Regions from separate parts of the Homo sapiens genome. Here regions 2, 3, 4, 5, 6 and 7 are each linked to region 1. The links are contacts of gene promoters, found by promoter capture Hi-C in blood cells and fetal thymus (Javierre and others, 2016). All regions are on one chromosome and are shown on one strand. Each heading gives the region's core, a stretch centred on a gene start or on the middle of the fragment in contact. The rest is flanking DNA. Distances are from core to core; before and after follow the strand shown.

Region 1 (2,808 bases), core at 309-2,808:
AGTGAGACCCTGTCTCAAAAAAAAAAATTAAGATTACCATTTTACAATTAAGCAAATAATTCCATGATGAAGCCAGGCCCAGACTACAGGCTGCAGCCCTTATAAAAAAACAGTGGGTAAGTAAAAGTTGATAAACAGCAACAAGGAAATGCACACTTGTGTTAATCAAATATTTAATTTCACACATGCTCTAATGCTTTACTTCCCTTACAATTCTAAGTAGCAGTCTAATGAGATCACATAGGCCTAACAACATTTATTCAACATTCTTCTGACAGAAGCTACAGGCATTTGCTCCAATTTATTCTACCTTTCTTTCTAGGGAAATTGAATAACAAGCAGAATGGAATAAGATTCTAATCCAGAATTCTGGAGACAACGCCAAGGAGACTGCCCTTCAGGTGACTCTAATCTGCAACCAGATTGAAGAACCAGATGACTTTCACAGGATCCATTCAGTTCAAACCAGAAGTCCTACTATTTTGAATAGAAAAGCTGTTAGGCTAATAGCGCAGGAGGTTTATACGGTTTATTCCTTCCTCCCTCAGACCTGTGCATGTCTGCAGAGATGAAGGGAAGGACGAACTGAGTAGGTTGCTGAAAAACGTTTAATTCAAGGGACAAGGAAGGTTACGGAAGAGGAAGAGACATTACGAGAGTTAAGGACAGTGGCTACGTCTACCTCAGCCGGATGGTTCTTAGAAATGGAGACTCTGAGGCCTAACCCCAGGTCTAAAAAAACAGATTCTGCATTTTAACGTCCCCAGACGATTTGTATGCACCGGTCTGCATCCCTAGTTCTCAATGAAACCTAAGAATCATCTGGAGAGTTTGTTAATAACTAGACACCTGGGTCCTACCCCTCAGAGATTCTGATTTACCGGGCTCTCGGTGGAGCTATATGTTTAACAAGCACTGCAAGTTATCCCGGTACAACTGCTCCAAGGTCTACGGTCTGAGAAGTACGGACCGGGAAGGCCTCTGCAAGGAGGTTCTCATTCATCAATTCACCCACTCATCCAGCCAGGACAAGGGCCTTCTTAGGCTATTCTATCTAAAGCGGCCCCCGTTAAACCGCACTCCTGCTTTTCCTCTGTAACACCCACCCCAGCTGCAAGTTCTCCGTACGCTTACCGTCTGTCTCCCCACCCACTAGAACGTGAACTCCAACACAGCAGAGACCTTCTGTGCTTTTCTTACCCAGGTGATCTCGGAGGACAAAATCCAATCTGAAGCCCACCCACCCCTCCCGCGCATGTCAACACCACTCAACAAACCCCTTGTACCTCTAGCTGTAATAAGTAACAAGCAGTATCCTACAGGGCGCCTCGGTGCCCAGGAGCGGATGCAAAGGCGCTGGGCGGGCACAAGGCAGCGCCAAGGACACTCAGGGACGGAGGAACCGACAGGGGACTTGACGCTCCGCCACTCCGACCAGCCGCCCCTTGTCCCCGCCGTCCTCGTCCGCCACTGAGATATCCCCCACGGTCTACCCACCCGTCGGCTCCCACCTGCGACCCAAGGACCCAAGTCTTCCAAGAGCTCAGCCGTTAGAATTCAAAGGTTCTTCTTTTTAAATAGGAGTTAAACCCTCTAGCTAGAAAGCCGATTGGCCTGCGCTCGAGCGAGGCTGCCTTGTGATTGGTTGACAACAAACCCGACGCCTTGAGTCGCGTTTAAGGGCGCACACCGCGCGCAGGCGCACTTGCTCCCTAAGAACCCGGAAGTGGTGGAGCCAACGGCCAGCCAGACCTGTGGCAGTCCCAGCCCCAGGGTGCTCTCCGCGGTCGGCCATTTATCGGTGAAGCAACAGCCCCTTGACGTCAAGCTTGACGCATTGGAGATAAAGTCCAAGGAGGTGAACTAACCTTTGAACGTGCCAGTAAGTAAGATGGCGAGAAAAGCAAGAGAGAGTGGGACCGATCGATAGCGCAGCGGTCGGCTTGGCGCCCTTTCAGCGTGCGCAGTGAACGTGCGCTCGGAGCGGTAGATTGGGCAGGATTCGCGCCTCCATTTTTCCAGGAGAGAGCGGGATACCAAGAGAACCGGACCAGCTGGTACTGGGACACGGGGAGAGTAGCTGGTGCGGTCGGCTGGGGCATTTAGAGAAAACCACAGAAACGACTGGGGCGAGACTGGAAGAGTCGAGAGTTAGCAAGGTGGCATGCGCCTCTACTTTGCGTTTCCTAAGTTGCCCGGCTTGGCCTGCACCCCTTCCTCTTCTCGAAGGGCCTCGCTTCCATTCCCACCCAGTCCTTAGTTCGCCTCTGCATCCAGATGGTCGCGGCGCATATAGTGAGGGGGCATCTGTGTTCTAGCCTTTCCAACTGCGATGTATCCGGTCCTGGATCGGGTTCTTGTCCTCGTGTGCTCACCTGCAAATTGGGGATAATTAGGCTTCTGTTTACCTGGCGAGTGAACGTTCTGTGGGAGTTGAGAAGTTAGGGGTGGGCCACTTAAAATATATATATATATACACACACACACACATATACATATATATACACACACATATGTGTGTGTGTGTGTGTGTATGTACACCCGGGATGTGCTCAGCAGAAGTGAAGAGACCGGATAGAACAGTGGTGTAGGGGAACCAAAAATGGCTTCCCTCCATCCTTCCAGGTACCTTATTAGGACTAAGAGTTAAATTCACATAAGACGAATTAACAGATTACTGCAGGGTAAACAGGATGTGCATGTAAAGCATTGAGCTAGCATACGGAAATTATTCGAGTCATATTAACCCAACGTTAACAGTAGAATCTCTCATCAACTTTTCTTTGCCAGACTACCCACTTGTGATTT
Region 2 (2,808 bases), core at 205-2,704, 2.8 Mb before region 1:
GATTTCTCATGCCTTAGCCTCTTGAGTAGCTGGGGCCACAGGTGTGCACCACCACACTCAGCTAATTTTTGTATTTTTAGTAAAGACGGGGTTTCGCCATGTTGGCCAGGCTGGTCTCAAACTCTTGGTTTCAAGTGATCCACCCGCCTTGGCCTTCCAAAGGGCTGGGATTACAGGCGTGAGCCACGTGCTGGCCTTAAAATTGTGTTTATAAGCCAGGCATGATGGCTCGATACTCGGGAGGCCGAGAGCTGGAGGATCAGTTGAGCCCAGGGGTTCAAGGCTGCAGTGAGCTGTGATTGCACCACTGCACTCCAGCCTGAGTGACAGAGCAGGAGCACATCTCAAAAAAAAAAAAAAGAAAGAAAACTAAAAAGTTAAATAAAACAAAATCAGAAACCAGAAACACAATAAACACTAAAACTCAAGATTGCAAAACACCAAATCTATATTTACACTTCCACATATAATAACATAACTTTAAGCTGAAATATATCATAAATAAAACAAGTAATGTCTACTGTTCGACAACTTAAGTATCAACAATTAAAATAAATCAAACTGGAATGAAATAAATACATAAACAAAAATCCAACGAATTGTACCTCTATTATATGTACTGTTGTCTCAAAGAAAAAAAAATATAAAACCAGTAGTATACCAATAGTTAATACTGATGGACACAAAAACATATTTTGAAGTACAAAGGGCTGTAGGAAAATAATTGGTATTTTTATACATTCAGAAATGTGGTTAAAAAGAGAAATCTGAAAGCCCAAAAAATTCCAGCATAATACAAATCGACTTGTTTTCAAATAGATTTGGTGATTCTTTTTTTTAAATACAGGTTTAAATTCCAGCCCTCTATTATCACATACCCCCTTTAAGATTTATGGTTCTAGTCACAGCAAGCTCTCTGTAACACTCATTGGATTAGGCAAAGATTGAGTCAATCATCTTGCAAATGTGTTAATCTTCAAAAATAGGCTATAAAAGTGCAAAACTATGAAAACAAAATCTAGATTATGTACATATGGCTCAGCTTGTGAACAGGAAAAAAGGTCAATAGTGTACACTTTCCTGATACAAAGCACTTCATTGCAATGCCAACAGACTGATCTCAAATGAGTTCTCCCTTGTAACACAGGAGCTAAGACTTCTATCAAGGAGGACATCTTACGTTGCATAATTTAAAAAAAAAAAATTTTTTCTAGGATTACCCTTGCTCTATGGAGAACAGCGAGGCCAGAAAAATGAACAGTGCAAATTTATTTTTGAAACAGTTTCTTAATAAAATATTTTGTGGTCACTAAGCCCATGTACTAATAAACTCAGCCATGGACAGCATATTAAAGAACAAAAGTTTAAAATATCTAGGAAGCCAGCTGGTGGCCATCTTCTCTAAAACCCAAATTGCATGTGCACTGAGAAAAATGTTACTGCTTCAAAACAACCAAAAATGGGAAAATAACTGAGGTCTAGAAACAGATTTTCTCTTTCTAGACTCCCAGCGGGCTCGGCCAGCAGTTCCTTATTCAAAATCAATGTGTCTATAATCAACTCTAGTATGTCCACAGTTCACCCAAATGCCAGATACATTAAGACTACCAAATACAAACCTAAAATGTTCCCCCCAAAATTTCCCTTAAAACTGTTCCCCAATACCTGCAATTCACAGATATAATTTAGCATTTTTGTTTTTATATACTAATTTAGGCAAAACCCCCCCGCCACTGAATCGTCCAACAAAAATGATTAATTTGACAGAAACAAATTTAAATAACTGCACATACAGTTTATGTTTATACAACGTGTGGCTGCTCTACAGAGAAAATGCTTGTCTGTAGACACACTCTCTTAAAAATCCTACAAGCCATCCCAACGCCCTCAGTCAAGGATCCTGGAGGTTCCAGGACAATCTGGAGAGGCGAGGAAGAAGGTGCCTTCCCCATCTGAGATGCTCAAAGTTGCGATAAAATGCTGCCAGCTTCCGAATGGCTGACCTCGATATCTGCAGCACATATCATAGAGGGTCAATACTTCCATTAACAATTTTAAGACAACAATAGATTTGGGTGGATTCAACATAATACAAAATCATTGACAGTTTAAAAAAAAAAAAACATACATTTTAAATGAAAGAGCACAATAGCAGAAACTGCTCCAAGTGATGAGCTGCATTAGAGAAAAGGAATACACACAGTATTTGAACAAGCAGGTTTACAACTTAGATATTTACAGATTTTTACCTGAGGTGCAAGCATTATATACTTTTCCCCCATCCCGCCCCACCCAACCCAAATGATTTCTTTTCAGCAGCGCTCAAGTATGCAAAAATTCCACTTCTTATTTGGTCAATTCTAAGAAAAATATTATTCAGGGACAAAATAGAGATTTCCAGTCCCCATGTATGTAAGTTCCAACTGTTCCAACTAGTTTGTATTGCTATTTGGTACAAAAGTTAACAGAACAACTTTACACAACTGTAGTGTTCCTTGCAGATTCCTCATATGTTTTATGTACAGTACAATCACAGCTTATTTCAGTAGCTTTCACCATTCGCTTCTCAAAGGATGAAGTAAAATTTAATTTCATGGGGAGTAAGCACTGACATCCACCAAGACCTAAGGAAAACAACATTTTTTAAATGATTAAGATCAAAACTGAATACAGTTTAGAAAATTCTTTCTTTAAAAAAGCGTAATACATAGAACCAAACTGACCTAGAAATGCAATGGGTTCTATTTGTTGTTGTTGTTTTTGAGACAGTCTCACTCTGTCGCCCAGGCTGGAGTGCAGCGGCACGAT
Region 3 (2,808 bases), core at 110-2,609, 2.8 Mb after region 1:
TGAGTAGCTGGGATTATAGGTGCTCACCACCACAACTGGCTAATTTTTTTGTATTTTTAGTAGAGAAGGGGTTTCGCCATTTTGGCTAGGCTGGTCTCTAACGCTTGACCTCAGGTGATCTATCTGCCTCGGCCTCCCAAAGTGCTGAGATTACAGGCGTGAGCTACCACACCCAGCCCCTTGTAGTTTCTTTATGATCACTTTGTATTCATAGCAATGTTGGAGCTTTTCCAGATATGGTAAATGGTAGTGATGTCAATTTTCCTTTGAATATATAAGGGTACATAAGAAAAAGTGAGTTGATATAAAGAAAATGAAAGGAAAATGGTCTGTGCAGAGTCGGTGTTTCTCCAAGGGTAGGCTGTGGTACTCGTGGCTAGGGTCGGTTCTAGATACACTATGGATGCTGCAGTAAATAACATTGACTCACACACTGGGAAGGTTGTTCCTGTTTTGATTCTATTTACGTATTTATTACTTTCATAAATTAGCCTCTTTGTTTTGAGAACATTGCAGATTCACCTGCAGTTGTAAGAAAAAAATACAGAGAGATCCCATGTGTTTTTTACCCAGTTTCCTCCAATAGCAACATCTTGCAAATCACAATCAAAATATTGACAGTGATATAGTCAAGATACAGAACATTTCTGTCACCGCAAGGATGCGTCGTGGACACCCCAAATCCCTCCTGCTCTCCTCCTCTCTCTCTCCCCCCCAACCCCTTAACCCCAAGCAATCACTAGTCTGTCCTCCAGTTTTATAATTTGTCATTTCAAGAATGTTATATGAATGGAATCATTCAGTGTGGTGTGTAGCCTTTGGGGACTGACTTTTTTCATTCAGCATAATTCTCTAGAGATTCATCCAAATGTTTCATGTGTCAACGGTATGCTTCTTTTTATTGCTCAGTAGTGTTCTGTGATATGGATGTACCACAGTTGGTTTAAATATTCATTGTTGAAGGGCATCTGGGCTGATGCCAATTTTTGACTATTACAAATAAAGCTTTAGAAACATTCATGTACAAGCTTTTGTGTGAACGTAAGTTTTCATTGTGAAATAAATGCCCAGGAGTGCAGTTGCTGGGTTGAATAATAGTCCCATGTTTGATTTGTTAAGAAATGGCCACCCTTTTTTCCAGAATGGCTGTGCCACTTCACATCCACACCGAAATGGATCCTGGCAACGTGGGCAGTGTTTCCAGATCCTCGCCAGCATTTGCTGTTTCACTATTTTTTATTCTAGCCATTCTGACAGGTGTGAAGTGATATTTTATTGTGGCTTTAATTTATATTTCCCAGGTGGCTAAAGATGTTGAACACCTTTTCGTGTGCTTATCTGCTGGCTGTATACCGTTTTTGGTGATAACTTGCTTCATGTGTTTGCACACTTTCTAATTGGATTGTTGTTGGTTTTTTTTTAACTGTTAAATTTTCATAGTTCTGTATAGATTTTAAATATAAGTCCCTTGTCAGATATGTTGTTTGTGAATACTTTCTCCAGATCTGTAGCTAGTTTTTTATTCTCTTATTATAAGCAGGGGTTTGCACAGAGCAAAAAAAAAAAAATTAACTTCGATGAGGTCCATTTTATTATATTTTCCTTTTATGGCTCATACTTTTTGTTTCAAGTCTAGGAACTCTTTCCCACTTTAGAAGTCCTAAAGATTTTCTCCTGTGCTTTTTTTCCCCTAAGCTTTTACAGTTTTATATTTCACATTTAAGACTGTTTTAAATATTTTGAGTTAATTTCTATATAAGTAAGATGTGAGGTTTAGGTCAAGGTTTTTTTTTTCTTTTTTCTTTTGCCTGCGGAAGTCAATTGTTTCAGCATCATTTGTTGAAACATCTACACTCTCTCTACAGAACTGCTTTCAACCTTTGTCAAAAAATCAGTTGGCTGAGGCAGGAGAATTGCTTGAACCCAGGAGGCAGAGGTTGCACTGAGCTGAGATCGTGCCACTGCACTCCAGCCTGGGTGACAGAGCAAGACTCCATCTCAAAAGAAAAAAAAATCAGTTGGGTATATTTGTGCAGATTGATTTATGTTTTTTTTTTTAATTATTTTGTTCTACTCATGTCTGTGTCTATTCTGACAATACAGTCTTGATTACTTTGGCTATATAATAAGTTATCAAGTTAGGTAGACTGATTCTTTACACTTTATTATCTTTCTTCAAACTTGTTTGAGTTATTCCAGTTCTTTTGCCTTTCTATATAAATTTTAGAATAATCTTGTCTATGCCCACAAAAATATCTTACTAGGGTTTTGATAGGAATTGCATTAAACCTGTATATCAATTTAGGGAGAATTGACATTTTTACTATGTTGAATCTTCCAATGCATGAACACAATATGCCTCTTTATTATTTAGACTTTATTTGAGTTAGTTCATCAGTGTTTTGTAGTTTTCAGTGCGTAAGTCTTGTACATGTTTTATTAGATTTACAACTACATATTTCGTTTTTCATTTAATTTTGGTTTTCAACCATTCATAGCTAGTATATAGAAATGTAATTGACTTTTGTGTGTTGATCTTGTATCCTGTGTCCTTGCTGCACTCACTTATTAGTGCGAGGAGGTTTTTTTTTTTTTTTTTTTGTAGATTCTTTGAGAATTTGTATGTAGACAATAATCTCATCTGCAAGTAGGGATAGTTTTATTTTTTCATTTCCTGCTTGCAAGTCTTTCCTTTCCCTGTATTTTGTATTTCTTTCTTGCTTTATTTTACTGGCTAAAACTTTCAGTCATCTTCTGAATGAGAGTGATGAGAGTGGACATCTTTCTTTTTCCTGATCTTAGGGAGAA
Region 4 (2,808 bases), core at 196-2,695, 2.7 Mb before region 1:
CTTAAACTTAATTTTATTGGACTTTACAAAGAATGAGTGATTTTTTTTTTTTTTTTTGAGACGGAGACCCCGTCGCCCAGACTGGGGTACAGTGGCGCAATCTCGGCTCACTGCAAGCTCCGCCTCCCGGGTTCACGCCATTCTCCTGCCTCAGCTTGCCGAGTAGCTGGGACTACAGGCGCCCCGCCCGGCTAATTTTTTGTATTTTTAGTTTAGACGGGGTTTGTTTCACCCTGTTAGCCAGGATGGTCTCCATCTCCTGACCTCATAATCGGCCCGCCTTGGCCTCCCAAAGTGCTGGGATTACAGGCGTGAGCCACCGCGCCCAGCCGAATCAGTGATTTTACTGATCAAAAAGTATTGGTTGTTTTTTATTTATGTGACAACTTCCGCTCTTAAGTTTATGAATTCCTTTGTATATTAGATTATGGAAGTGTCTTTAAGAAATAAATACAATTTTAAAATATCTATCTACAGGTAATATCCACATCTCTATGTCTATCGATAGAGAATAACATTTAGGGAAACGGAGAGGGGAGAGGGAGCTAGAATGGAAAGGGCACCTCACAGATGATTTCTCCCCTAACAAATTTTTGTTTTGTTTTGTTTTGCTTTGAGATTTTACTTTTTTGCAAGAAGAATCTATTTAGGTATTAGTTGAATTTTTCATCGGTCAGGTCCAAAGAACAAGGGGGGGTGGGGAGGGGACGGCGGGAGAGTGTGGCAGGGTGTGGGCGGGGCAGGAAGAAATGGGGGCCCACCCTGAAGGCTTTCTTAGGTCCTTTTCTCAGCCATTTTCCTCCTTCCCCAACCGGAGAATTGCCCCGCGTGTGCAAGGAGCGGCGTGCCTCCACGCAGCAGCAACAACAACAGCCGCGCGAGTGGCCGCAGCGTCCACGCCGCCCGCGAGTGGCCGCAGCGTCCACGCCGCCAGCGCAAAGTCGGTGCGCACAGCCTGGCGCGAGTTCGAAGCTGGAGAGGGCTGTAAAATAGATTGGGGGGCGGGGGAGACCACGTGATTTTCTGGAACGCTGGCTCGCCTCTTTATTTTGATTCTCGAGTAAACTTACAATCCCCAAAATGCGTTGAGGGCATCGGAAAGAGTAAAGTCACGTTCCGCTGGAAAGGATCACTTCTTAAGTTCACATGAACCTATTCTTTGATCCTCCTTCATTGCTGCTTAAGATTTACTTCTCTTTCAAATCAAATAATGTGTTTCTTTCTCATTCTGAGAAAAGCTTTCAAGATGTGATTTCCCTTTTGAAACACTTTGAAGTCTTTCCCCAGCACATCCTTTCTTAAAGGGATTTGGTAAGAGGAGATAGGCCTGGAGGCCAGGGCATTTTAAAGTCACTTTCCAAATACCCTGTGTTCCCTTAAAGAGTCTTGAATTGAAACATCCCAGCTGCTGGAAGACGTTTCCAAATGTGACTCTGTGGCTGCAACACCCTAATGTCTTCTCTCCTAGGACCCTGGTGGGTCATAAAGACAGACAGAGCAGAAAGGAAGCCTTTAGTTTTTTAAGTAAAGCCACTTCCATGGGCTTCCTAAAACAACAAGGATTCTCACATTTAGTTAGTCCTCTCTGTTAGGACATCAAGGGAGAAACAGCTGAAATCCAGGGCTGAACATTTCCTGGCGCGGCTAGATTTGAAGCTTCCAGTATGTGGAGTATCACCTTCATTCCCTCTGGGGGCGTCTATATGGTTTGTGCCAGGTGGGAGCACCTGCCCCGTGGTGGCCAAAAATACTGACAGCAATTCAAGCTTCTCACTTCCGAATGAGATGTTTGTACACGAAGTGACCTTTAATTGTGTCTTAGAAACTCATGTCAGATCAACATGTGGTTTCACTTATTCAGGAGAGGTTATTACATTTCAAGCTGTTTTGTGTTAGTTTTTAGCATTTAAATGAAGTATTTTCTCTTTCATATATTTGATGTGGCTCAAAGAAGCTTGCTTCTTTTTCTTTTTTTTCCTTCATAGATTTTATTGTTTGATTAGATCTTTTTGTCAAGTCAGATCAAAGATGGCTTTTCCTTTCTTTAGGAGAGAGATCTTTTATGAAAACAAATCAATAGAACAGATTTCACAGTAAAGAGGCATTTTGTTTAAAAGATTTTGAAAAGAGGAAAAAGATTACAATGAGGGTAGAAGAGAGATGTTTTTATTTTTGTATTCTATTTGTCTGTCAAAGAGTTAGATGAAAGCAAATACTTTGGCATTCTCAACTTCAGATTTACTGTGGGGAGGCTTTGCAGACTCAGCTAGATAGACACATCCTTATAGAAGAATTCACTTTACCTTTTAGCATCTGGGAATATCCGAGAGCTGGTGGCTCCTCCCTACCTATCCCTGCTCCCTCCTAAGATGATGTAGATGCTGGATTCTTGGCTTTTTGGCATCTTTTTCAGATGAACTCCTTCACATGCTTCAAGAGAAAATGCAGGAGTTTCTAGATAGCATTCATGTTTTTGTAGCAACTTTTAGTTCCCTCTATCCAGGGGCTACCACAGTATATTGAAATGATGTGTTTACTTGGTGGCTATGCTGCTCTTTAGGGGCAGGAAAGGGCTGGTTCACCTTGTCCCTCTCCCTGCTTGTCGGAGCTCAACAAATATTTGTCAATCTGAACTGAACAAAGGCAGAAATGTGGTCAGTATTCCCTGTGCTATTTCTTTTTTTTCTTTTCTTTTTCTTTTTTTTTTTTTTTTGGGATGGAGTTTCGCTCTTGTTGCCCAGGCTGGAGTGCAATGGCACGATCTCTGCTCACCGCAACCTCCACCTCCTGGGTTCAAGCAATTCTCCT
Region 5 (2,808 bases), core at 182-2,681, 2.7 Mb after region 1:
TTGCAGGATACAGCAGGCCCTAGGATGTGTCCCACTGAGTACAAATGCGGACAACGTTTTAAAAGTTGCCTTCAGAGGCCGGGCACAGTGGCCCACACCTGTAATCCCGGCACTTTGGGAGGCCAAGGCGGGCGAATCACCTGAGGTCAGGTGCGACCTGACCAGGGCGAATCACTTTGAGACCAACCTGACCAACATGGTGAAACTCCGTCTCTACTAAAAATACAAAAATTAGCCGGGCGCGGTGGTGGGCGCCTGTAATCCCAGCTACTTGGGAGGCCAAGGCAGGAGAATCGTTTGAACACGGGAGACGGAGGTTGCAGTGAGCCAAGAACACGCCACTACTCTCCAGCCTGGGCAACAGAGCGAGACTCTGCCTCAAAAAAGAAATTTAAAAAAAATTTGCCTTCAGAGACAGTTTTAAAAACATAAATGGCTTTGTAGCATATTTATTTACAAGGCTATACTAATTAAAACAGTGTGGCAACGACATTAAGATCAGCGGAACAGAGCAGGTAACTCGGGAAAAAAAAGGATTTCGCTGCTTAAATTTGTGGCTCTTTTGTAAATGGAATCAGGGACCTAGAAGAGAATATAATTCTCCACATCCAACTGGTTCAAGGCTTAGTTTCGTTAGTAAACAGTTCACATTATCCAAAAAGATGTTCCTGAACGTGGCCTCAAAGAGCTAACACGGGTAGGCCCTGACGATCGTCCTTTTCCATCTCTCAGATGAAAATGGGTAACCCAGGGTCACACGCTTGTTACAGCCAGAGCTAGACCTTGAATTCCAAATCCAAGGCTCTGCTGCGTAGATGAACGAGTTGTGAAAAGGCTTCACATCCTGGTGGTCAGAGTTCACCCGAAATTCACATTCGAAGGTAGAAACTCCACCCAAACGGCGGCCAGGGAAAGTACACTCTGGAGAAAACCAACACCTCCCTCTTGGGATCCTCGGGTCCACGTCCCAAAGTGGTTTCACAGGGCGGGATGGGGCAACCCTGAGTGCTGTCAAGGGCTTCGTGCTCCGCGACGCCCCCAGGACCTCAGGAGGCCGCCGGCCCGAGGCTACCTCATGGTGGGGGACAGCCCGGAAGTGACCCCGTAGCCCTGCCGGTCGCAAGGCCGCCTGGGTCTGGAGGTCGGAGCCGTCCCCTCGGCTAGGGCGCCTCGGGGTCGTGACCTTGGTCTGCCCTCCGTGTCGCCGGGGCCCGCAGGCTTCAGAGTTCGCTCCCCTCGCTAGGCCCGACGCCTAGAAGCCTCCTGCGGGCCGCCTCTGCCTCGCCTCTACTCCAGGGCCGGCGTGCCTGCCCTCCACGGAGCCGACCCGCGCCCCAAACTTACTCAAAGACGTGCTCCGAAGTCCAGATCTTCATGGTGCCGGCACCCTGAGAGATGTCCGGGTAGCGCCAGGGGACAACGAGGCACAGAGGCTACACCTGCCCCTGCCCCGCCCCCAGCACCCCAGCCGGCGGCGCAGTGCGCAGGCGCTGTCGGGCCCGACGCGAGGGACGTCCAGACGCGCGGCCCCACGCCCTATCCCGGCCCGGGTTTTGCCCCAGCCTTGCGCGCGGCGCAAGGAAACCCCGCCTCTTAGCGCCGGGCGCATCGCGCCGGCGCAGTGCCGCCGACGGCAGCTGGAGGGGCCGGCGCGGGCGCTGTGCTGCGCAGGCGCGGCGGGCTTGTAGCGAGCCTTGACCTCTGGGCAGAGTTGGGTCAGGTCCAGGAGGTGCCTGCGCGCCCGCTTGGCCCTCCTTGTCCTTCTGGCCCAGCACATCCTCGCCTGGCATTTCGAGGCGTGTGGACGCATGCGGTCAGCCTGCTGACATAGATGTTCGTTGTGGTGGTCACTTGTGCAAAATTTCCTGGTGCCCTATAGAGAGTTCCAGCCACCTCCTGGGTCAGCCCGGGCTGTTTTCCCAAATCCACCAGCCACCCAGCCGATCAGCTGGGCCAGTCCCACCTGCCCGCCAGGAGCTTGCAGCCCTCGGAGGGGATAAATAAGGCGTGACGCGGAGAAGCTAACATCAGACCTGCCCATGAATAATACCCCTACGAGGGATGCGGTCCGGAAGCACGGTGCCAGGGGTCGGGTAGAAAAGCTTCCTGGCCGGGCACACCTTGCCCTAGGTGCATAGGATGGATCTGAGCTGAGATGTCTCTCCCAGAGAGACTTCCCTCGTCACCGTTTCTCACCTTGTTGCTCTGCTCCGTCACAATATCCTGTTGCATTTTTTATAGCACTTACCCCTCTGACATCATCTTGTTAATTTATTTGTGAAAATTCACAATCGAACTGAGTTCTTGAAGGCAAGAATCTTGCCGGTCTTGCTCAAAAATCATCCTCAGTGTCTCCCATATAGTCAAGGCTCAATGACTACTTATTGAAAAATGAAAAAAATCAATAGCTATTTGTGGGATGAATGAATTAATGGAGTCATCTAGTTTATTTGTTGTAACTTCCGCTAGACTGTAAGCCCCTGAGGGCGAGGCTCTTGCCAGACTTGTTCAGTGATTTCCCCCTTCCTAAATGACAATTATTTGTTGCATCAATGGATGAAAGAATGACTAAGAATTGCTGGGGCAGGAGGAGGTGGCATGTGGTTTCATTCAGAGATGAGCCTTGTCCAGGGAACAGACTGCCTGGCTTAGCTTTCAGAATATGGCTTCCCACCCTGCTCTCCTGCACTCTCCACAGCCGTCTACCTCCTAACAGAACAATTTGCCATTTTCAATGAAGGTTATGGAGGAAAATCTTTACATCTAGTTACTTAGAAGCTTGTTAGAAGGACCACCTCATTCTTGTTC
Region 6 (2,808 bases), core at 170-2,669, 2.5 Mb before region 1:
TTCACTTCCCTTCCCTTCCCTTCCCTTCCCTTCCCTCCCCTCCCTTCTCCTCCCCTCCCCTCCCCTTCCCTTCCCTTTTTTCTCCTCTTAAAGCCACCAACTGTGCTAGGTATTTGTATGTTTACTCTCAGATCATTTTTCCAAGCTTCTCTTCAAACTGCATTTCCCAGGTTCCATTACCAACTGGCTTCTGGTTAAGTTCAGCCAGTGGGCGGCACTGACACGTATTTTTCCTGCCTCCTCCCTCCAGTCAACAAAAAGGTACTGCTTGCAGAAGCCTCCATTGGGTTCCAGCTACCCTCAAGCAGCCTCACCCCCATCCACATGGGGTTCTATTTCCCACAGGGTGCCGGGTTCCCTAGCTCCAGAAGCATCACCTCTTCCCTTTGGCTGTGTGTCTCTAGTGGTGGTTCTTTTTGTAGCCTATTTCTATTTCTTTCTTTCTTTTTTTTTTTAAATTATACTTTAAGTTTTAGGGTACATGTGCACAATGTGCAGGTTAGTTACATAGGTATACATGTGCCATGTTCTATTTCTAATCTCCGGGTGGGCCTCACGGCCCCATGGTTGTCTTTTCAACTCTTCCAGTACCTTTAAAACTAGCACCCATATTAATGTCCTTCTATTCAGCTCCTTGTCATGGGATAGAGGTTCCCGAGAAAACCCTAAGACACAGATCACAGATTTTTCTTTTTTTTTTTTGGAACAAAGTCTCGCTCTTGTCCCCCAGGCTGGAGTGCGATGGTGTGATCTCGGTTCATGGCAACCTCTGCCTCCCGGGTTCAAGGGATTCTCCTGCCTCAGCCCCCCGAGTAGCTGGGATTACAGGCGTCTGCCACCACACCCGGCTAATTTTTGTATTTTTAGTAGAGATGGGATTCTCCTTCCTCAGCCCCCCGAGTAGCTGGGATTACAGGCGTCTGCCACCACACCCGGCTAATTTTTGTATTTTTAGTAGAGATGGGGTTTTACCATGTTGGCCAGGCTGGTCTAGAACTCCTGACCTCAGGTGATCCACCCGTCTTGGCCTCCCAAAGTGCTGGGATTACAGGCGTGAGCCACCGCGCCTGGCCGACACAGAGGTTTTTAACCTAAGACACAGACCCTGAGACAAAAACTTAGGTGCAAGTAGTTTATTTGGGAAGTGATCCCAGGAAGCACAAAAGGTGGGGTGGGGGGGCGTGCTCATGAGTATGTTACTGCTGTGGGTGACGGGTGGCTCGGTCTTGCTGAGGACCCTTGAGAGAACACAAAGACGACCCCTCAACATTGTCCCACTGAGAGATGGGGCAGCTGAGGTGTTTACCTTTCCTCTCCCATCTTTCACTGATTGAGAATTGTCCTTCGGGGCATAAAATTTCAGGTATTTTCAAAATGCCATGCAGGTGGGCTAAACAAGCTCCTACAGCCCCTGGAGAAAGCCACCGAGAGGAAAAGCAAAGAACGAGGAGTTTTGGGGTGGGAAGCTGTCAGTGCTGCAGGTAAACTCGGGTAGTCTGAAGACGATGGGGCAGGGCAGCCACAGCACCTACTGCCATGGCGACTTGGCCACCGTTATAAGTAGATGCAACTGTACAACCAAGGATAGCCAAGGGTGGACCTGAGCCCCCTCTCCAGAAATTCTGCCTTACTTTAGAATGGGGTGAACAGCAGGGAAAATGAACATTTTTCTTTGCTTTTTCTCCTCCCTCCTTTCTTTTTTCTAGATAAGCCAGCCAGCCAACTGCTTATGAGGATAAGGAGAAACTGGGGCAAAGTTTAAGGATGTCGCAAAGTCTGGGTGGCCTTCAGTCCATGAAAGAGAACACATCTGTTCTATCTCAGGCTGAGGTCATCTGCATCCTCATCAATAAGCTGACTGAGCACTCATTACCTGCCAGACACGGTGCCTACATGCTCTAAATGCACGGTCTCGTTTATTCTCAGCAACTTTCCGAGGTAAGTGCTGTTAGCATTCCCATTCCACAGAGGAACAAACTAAGGCTCTGAGAAGAAGTAATTTGCTCAAGACCTCACAGCCTGGGATCATGGGTATGAATCATCTGGGTGAATGATGAGGCCAAATCCCAAGTCCATGTTTATGACACTTAGAAATAACCATTTAAATGTCCTTTGAAGGGTCAAAACCATTTAGAGGTTTTATCTCTTTCTTACAATCTTCAAAGAAGTTTAACACCTTATAATAAATATCTCACAGATAACTCAGGTCACTTAGTGAATATTAGTTGAATTGCTTTTGTATTAGATCCTACCTGCAGCCAAAATATAAATCTATGTTACCCTCCAGCTCAAATATCTTCCATGGCTCCCCATTGCCGTCAAGAGACAATTTAAACTCGTTACTATGGACTTTTTACTCCAAGTCCTTGAGATCCATCTGTGCCACCTCCCCAGCTTCCATCCTCTTATCCGTTCTCCTCACAGTCTCACTTCAGCCATGCTAAGCTACCTGCCATTCTCTCTGTGGACCCTGGGCTCTTGCACTTGCTGTTCTTCTGGGAGCCCTTTTGTCCAACGCTTATTCATTCTGTGTGAGTTAACTCAACTGTCACCTCCCCAAAGTGGCCAACCTCCACCCACTGTGGTCTTGCGCCAGTGCCTTCCCCTGAGTCCCATGACACCCTGCATTTGCTTCTCTTACATTGTATTATTATTATCTTTTTGCCTGCCTGTCTCTCCCACAGACATGAAAGCAAGCTTTTATGTACTTAGGTTGGATTTCAACCTTGGCTCTGCCATGTGTGTTCTTGGGCAAAGTTGTTTTTTTCTCTGTGAGCCTTAGTTTCCTCAGCTGCCAAATAAGCAGTG
Region 7 (2,808 bases), core at 157-2,656, 2.3 Mb before region 1:
TTGTGCAGACTCCTCCTGCCCCCAGTGATGAATCCAGAGGAAGCAAAAGAACTGGTTGAGCAGAAGACACCCTTCTAACATAGCAAATGATCTTTCCCCCCATTCTTTATTGAATTTATTTTTTTTCTTTAGTTGATGTGAGCTGCTTTTGACTATGCTGGTTTTTTTTTTGTTTGTTGTTGTTGTTGTTGTTGTTGTTGTTGAGATGAGGTCTCTGTCTGTCTCCTAGGCTGGAGTGCCGTGGCACGATCTTGGCTCACTGCAACCTCTGCCTCCCTGGGTTCAAGAGATTCTCCTTCCTCAACCTCCAGAGTAGCTGGGATTACAGACGTGTGTCACCACGCCCAGCTAATTTTTGTATTTTTAGTAGAGACGGGGTTTCACCACGTTGGCCAGGCTGGTCTCAAACTCCCAACCTCAGGTGATCCACCTGTCTCGGCCTCCAAAAGTGCTGGGATTACACGCGTGAGCCACTGCACCCAGCCAACTATGCTGATTTTTAAAAAACTTCATTGTACCTTAACAGCATTTACAAAAATCAGATTTATCTGATTGAAGTATAATTCACATACAATAAAATCCACCAACTTTAATAGCACAATTCAGTGCATTTTGACAAAATATGCAGTCATGTAGCCTCCACCATGATGAAGGTATAAAGCTTCTCCATCATTGCAAAGTTTCTCGATGCCCCTCTGCAGTGAGTGTCTCAACCAGCCCCAGCCCCTAGCAACCACTGATCTACTTTCTGTCACTACATTTGTGCCCTTTCTAGAATTTTATATAAGTGGAATCATGTAGTATGTTGCCTTTTGTGTCTGGCTTCTTTTTCGTAGTATAATAATGTTGAGATTCATCCATGCTGTTGCATTGATCAGTAGTTCCTTCTTATTTATTGCTAAGGAGTATACCATCTGCTATAGCCTGAATGTGTCCCCCAAAATTCATATGTTGAAACTTAGTTACCATGTGATCATATTAAGAGGTGAGGCCTTAAGGAGGTGATTGAGTTTAGAGGGCAAAGACCACATAAATGGAATTATAGACTTTATAAACGGACTTGAGGGAACTAGTTAGTCCCTTTCCTGCCCTTCTGTCGTGTCTGCCATCTGAGGACACAGCATTCCTCCCCTCTGGTGGGCACAGCAAGGCGCCATCTTGGAAGTAGAGAACAGGGCCCTCACCAGACACTGAACCTGCTGGTGCTTTGATCCTGGACTTCCCAGCCTCTAGAACTAAGAGAAAAAAATTTCTACTTTTTATAAATTACCAGATCTATGGCATTTTGTTATAGCAGTACAAACAGATTACGAGACCATTGTACGGATATACCCTAATTGGATTATCCGTTCTTCTAATGATAGATATTTTGCTCTAATAATTCTCAAGATATTTTTGGGTTCAAATAAAACAACTATTTGAAAAGGATGGAGACAAATTGAGGATACTAATTTAAACAATTGCATTTTGGCAGAACAAGCACATAAGCCTCTCACCCAAAGTTTGCAAGCAAATGTGTTTGTCTTAGTGGCATTGCAGGTAAATCACATGGTATGTTGTTTTAACATCATTAGCAACCTACTCCAAAACGGGACACTCAAATAACATCTAAAATTGGTGAGTTAAGCTAGAAATATAACATAAGCAAAAACTGAGACATTTTGATTTTTTAATATATTGTTACTTAAGATGAATAATAATACCAAACTTTTGAGAAAGATCTCCAATCCACATGGATTGTATTACTTAATGTTTGTTTGATATCAAATTCCCATGGTGGTTTGCTCTTACTAAGAAAAAGCACTCTACACGATACATTTCTTTCTAGGAGGATACAGAATGTAATTTCATGTTTTAGTTTAAAAGAGGTATTTTCCCTGATTGATATCTCTCACATTGTATCGAAAGACAAATAAAAGACTTACAAGGCATAAGGGATGTAGGAAAGACTAGTTTTAACTTTTGATCTTAAAGTTCCAAAAGATATGTTAGGCAGAAATAATACAGTTAACTTCAAATAGCAATGGCAGTCTTTATGTCAATTGACATTAAATCCAAGACAGAATAACTTTCCTTATGTGTTTACCACATGCCAGACACTGTTCTGAGAGTTTTAGGAGTATCAACTTATTTAAACCGTACAATAACTTAGAAGCTTTGGTCCTATCATTATTATAATTCCCATTTTACAGATGACAGAACAAAGAAGCTCAGAAACCTGCCCAAGCTCACATATTGGAGCCATGATTCAATGTAGCATTCCAGCCTCTTTGGCTGTTTGCTTAGCCATGGTACCATTGCTGCTTCTAAATAAGCCTTCATAGGAAATATTATTGGATGCCAATGGTATTAGTCTGTTCTCAGGCTACTAATAAAGACATACCTGAGACTGGGTAATTTATAAAGGAAAGAGGTTTAATGGACTTACAGCTCCACATGGCTGGGGAGACCTCACAATCATGGCAGATGACGAAGGAAGAGCAAAGGGATGTCTTACATGGCAGCAGGCAAGAGAGCATATGCAGTGGAACTCCCTTTTATAAAACCATCAAATCTCGTGAGACTTATTCACTATCATGAGAACAGCATGGGAAAAACATGCCCCTATGATTCAATTACCTCCTACTGGGTCCCTCCCATGACACGTGGGGATTATGGGAGCTACAGTTCAAGATGAGATTTGGGTGGGGACAGAGCCAAACCGTATCACCAATGAATTGTTTTAATTGTAATTTTTGTAAGTAGGAAAAGTATAGATAAAAAGAAACCAAACAGTCAACTAGATTTCTATTTACATATTTTTCCAAT

What was found. The method cuts DNA at HindIII sites, captures the fragments that hold promoters and counts their contacts. A CHiCAGO score of 5 or more calls a contact.
Region 2: a fragment that was not itself captured here is called in contact with the fragment with the promoter of AURKA in region 1 in 1 of 17 cell types (M1 macrophages); the score reaches 5.2 in M1 macrophages.
Region 3: a contact is called between a fragment that was not itself captured here and the fragment with the promoter of AURKA in region 1, in 1 of 17 cell types (activated CD4 T cells). The highest score is 5.1, in activated CD4 T cells.
Region 4: a contact is called between a fragment that was not itself captured here and the fragment with the promoter of AURKA in region 1, in 1 of 17 cell types (erythroblasts). The highest score is 6.7, in erythroblasts.
Region 5: a contact is called between the fragment with the promoter of PRELID3B here and the fragment with the promoter of AURKA in region 1, in 6 of 17 cell types (total CD8 T cells, naive CD4 T cells, total B cells and 3 more). The highest score is 10.0, in total CD8 T cells.
Region 6: a contact is called between a fragment that was not itself captured here and the fragment with the promoter of AURKA in region 1, in 3 of 17 cell types (erythroblasts, M0 macrophages and fetal thymus). The highest score is 10.6, in erythroblasts.
Region 7: a contact is called between a fragment that was not itself captured here and the fragment with the promoter of AURKA in region 1, in 1 of 17 cell types (erythroblasts). The highest score is 6.1, in erythroblasts.

What each region holds. Positions count from the first base shown.
Region 1 is chr20:56,390,657-56,393,464 of GRCh38, forward strand. AURKA (aurora kinase A) reads right to left here and starts at 1,559. Exons shown (of 9, transcript NM_198437.3): 1 at 1,512-1,559. It overlaps CSTF1 (cleavage stimulation factor subunit 1), which reads left to right and starts at 1,989. Exons shown (of 6, transcript NM_001324.3): 1 at 1,989-2,057. RefSeq lists an enhancer at 1,705-1,944. The HindIII fragment of the contact is 5,454 bases long and covers 1-1,826 here.
Region 2 is chr20:53,566,641-53,569,448 of GRCh38, forward strand. ZNF217 (zinc finger protein 217) reads right to left here. Exons shown (of 6, transcript NM_006526.3): 6 at 431-2,624. The region is part of intron 3 of ZNF217-AS1 (ZNF217 antisense RNA 1); the gene reads left to right. Among named protein-coding and RNA genes, the nearest start is that of ZNF217-AS1, 15 kb to the left of the region's middle. The HindIII fragment of the contact is 4,272 bases long and covers 1-2,808 here.
Region 3 is chr20:59,165,874-59,168,681 of GRCh38, forward strand. All of the region lies in intron 1 of ZNF831 (zinc finger protein 831), which reads left to right. Among named protein-coding and RNA genes, the nearest start is that of ZNF831, 3.5 kb to the left of the region's middle. The HindIII fragment of the contact is 667 bases long and covers 1,027-1,693 here.
Region 4 is chr20:53,659,394-53,662,201 of GRCh38, forward strand. No RefSeq gene overlaps it. Among named protein-coding and RNA genes, the nearest start is that of ZNF217, 67 kb to the left of the region's middle. RefSeq lists enhancers at 819-878, 889-948, 1,869-1,928. The HindIII fragment of the contact is 418 bases long and covers 1,237-1,654 here.
Region 5 is chr20:59,041,355-59,044,162 of GRCh38, forward strand. It overlaps PRELID3B (PRELI domain containing 3B), which reads right to left and starts at 1,432. Exons shown (of 6, transcript NM_016045.3): 1 at 1,345-1,432. The coding sequence starts at 1,376. SLMO2-ATP5E (SLMO2-ATP5E readthrough) reads right to left here and starts at 1,492. Exons shown (of 6, transcript NR_037930.1): 1 at 1,345-1,492. RefSeq lists a silencer at 1,350-1,749. The HindIII fragment of the contact is 2,130 bases long and covers 1-2,100 here.
Region 6 is chr20:53,935,657-53,938,464 of GRCh38, forward strand. It overlaps BCAS1-AS1 (BCAS1 antisense RNA 1), which reads left to right. Exons shown (of 5, transcript NR_199019.1): 2 at 1,707-1,938. Among named protein-coding and RNA genes, the nearest start is that of BCAS1-AS1, 22 kb to the left of the region's middle. The HindIII fragment of the contact is 2,552 bases long and covers 144-2,695 here.
Region 7 is chr20:54,051,554-54,054,361 of GRCh38, forward strand. The region is part of intron 3 of BCAS1 (brain enriched myelin associated protein 1); the gene reads right to left. Among named protein-coding and RNA genes, the nearest start is that of MIR4756, 16 kb to the right of the region's middle. The HindIII fragment of the contact is 1,494 bases long and covers 660-2,153 here.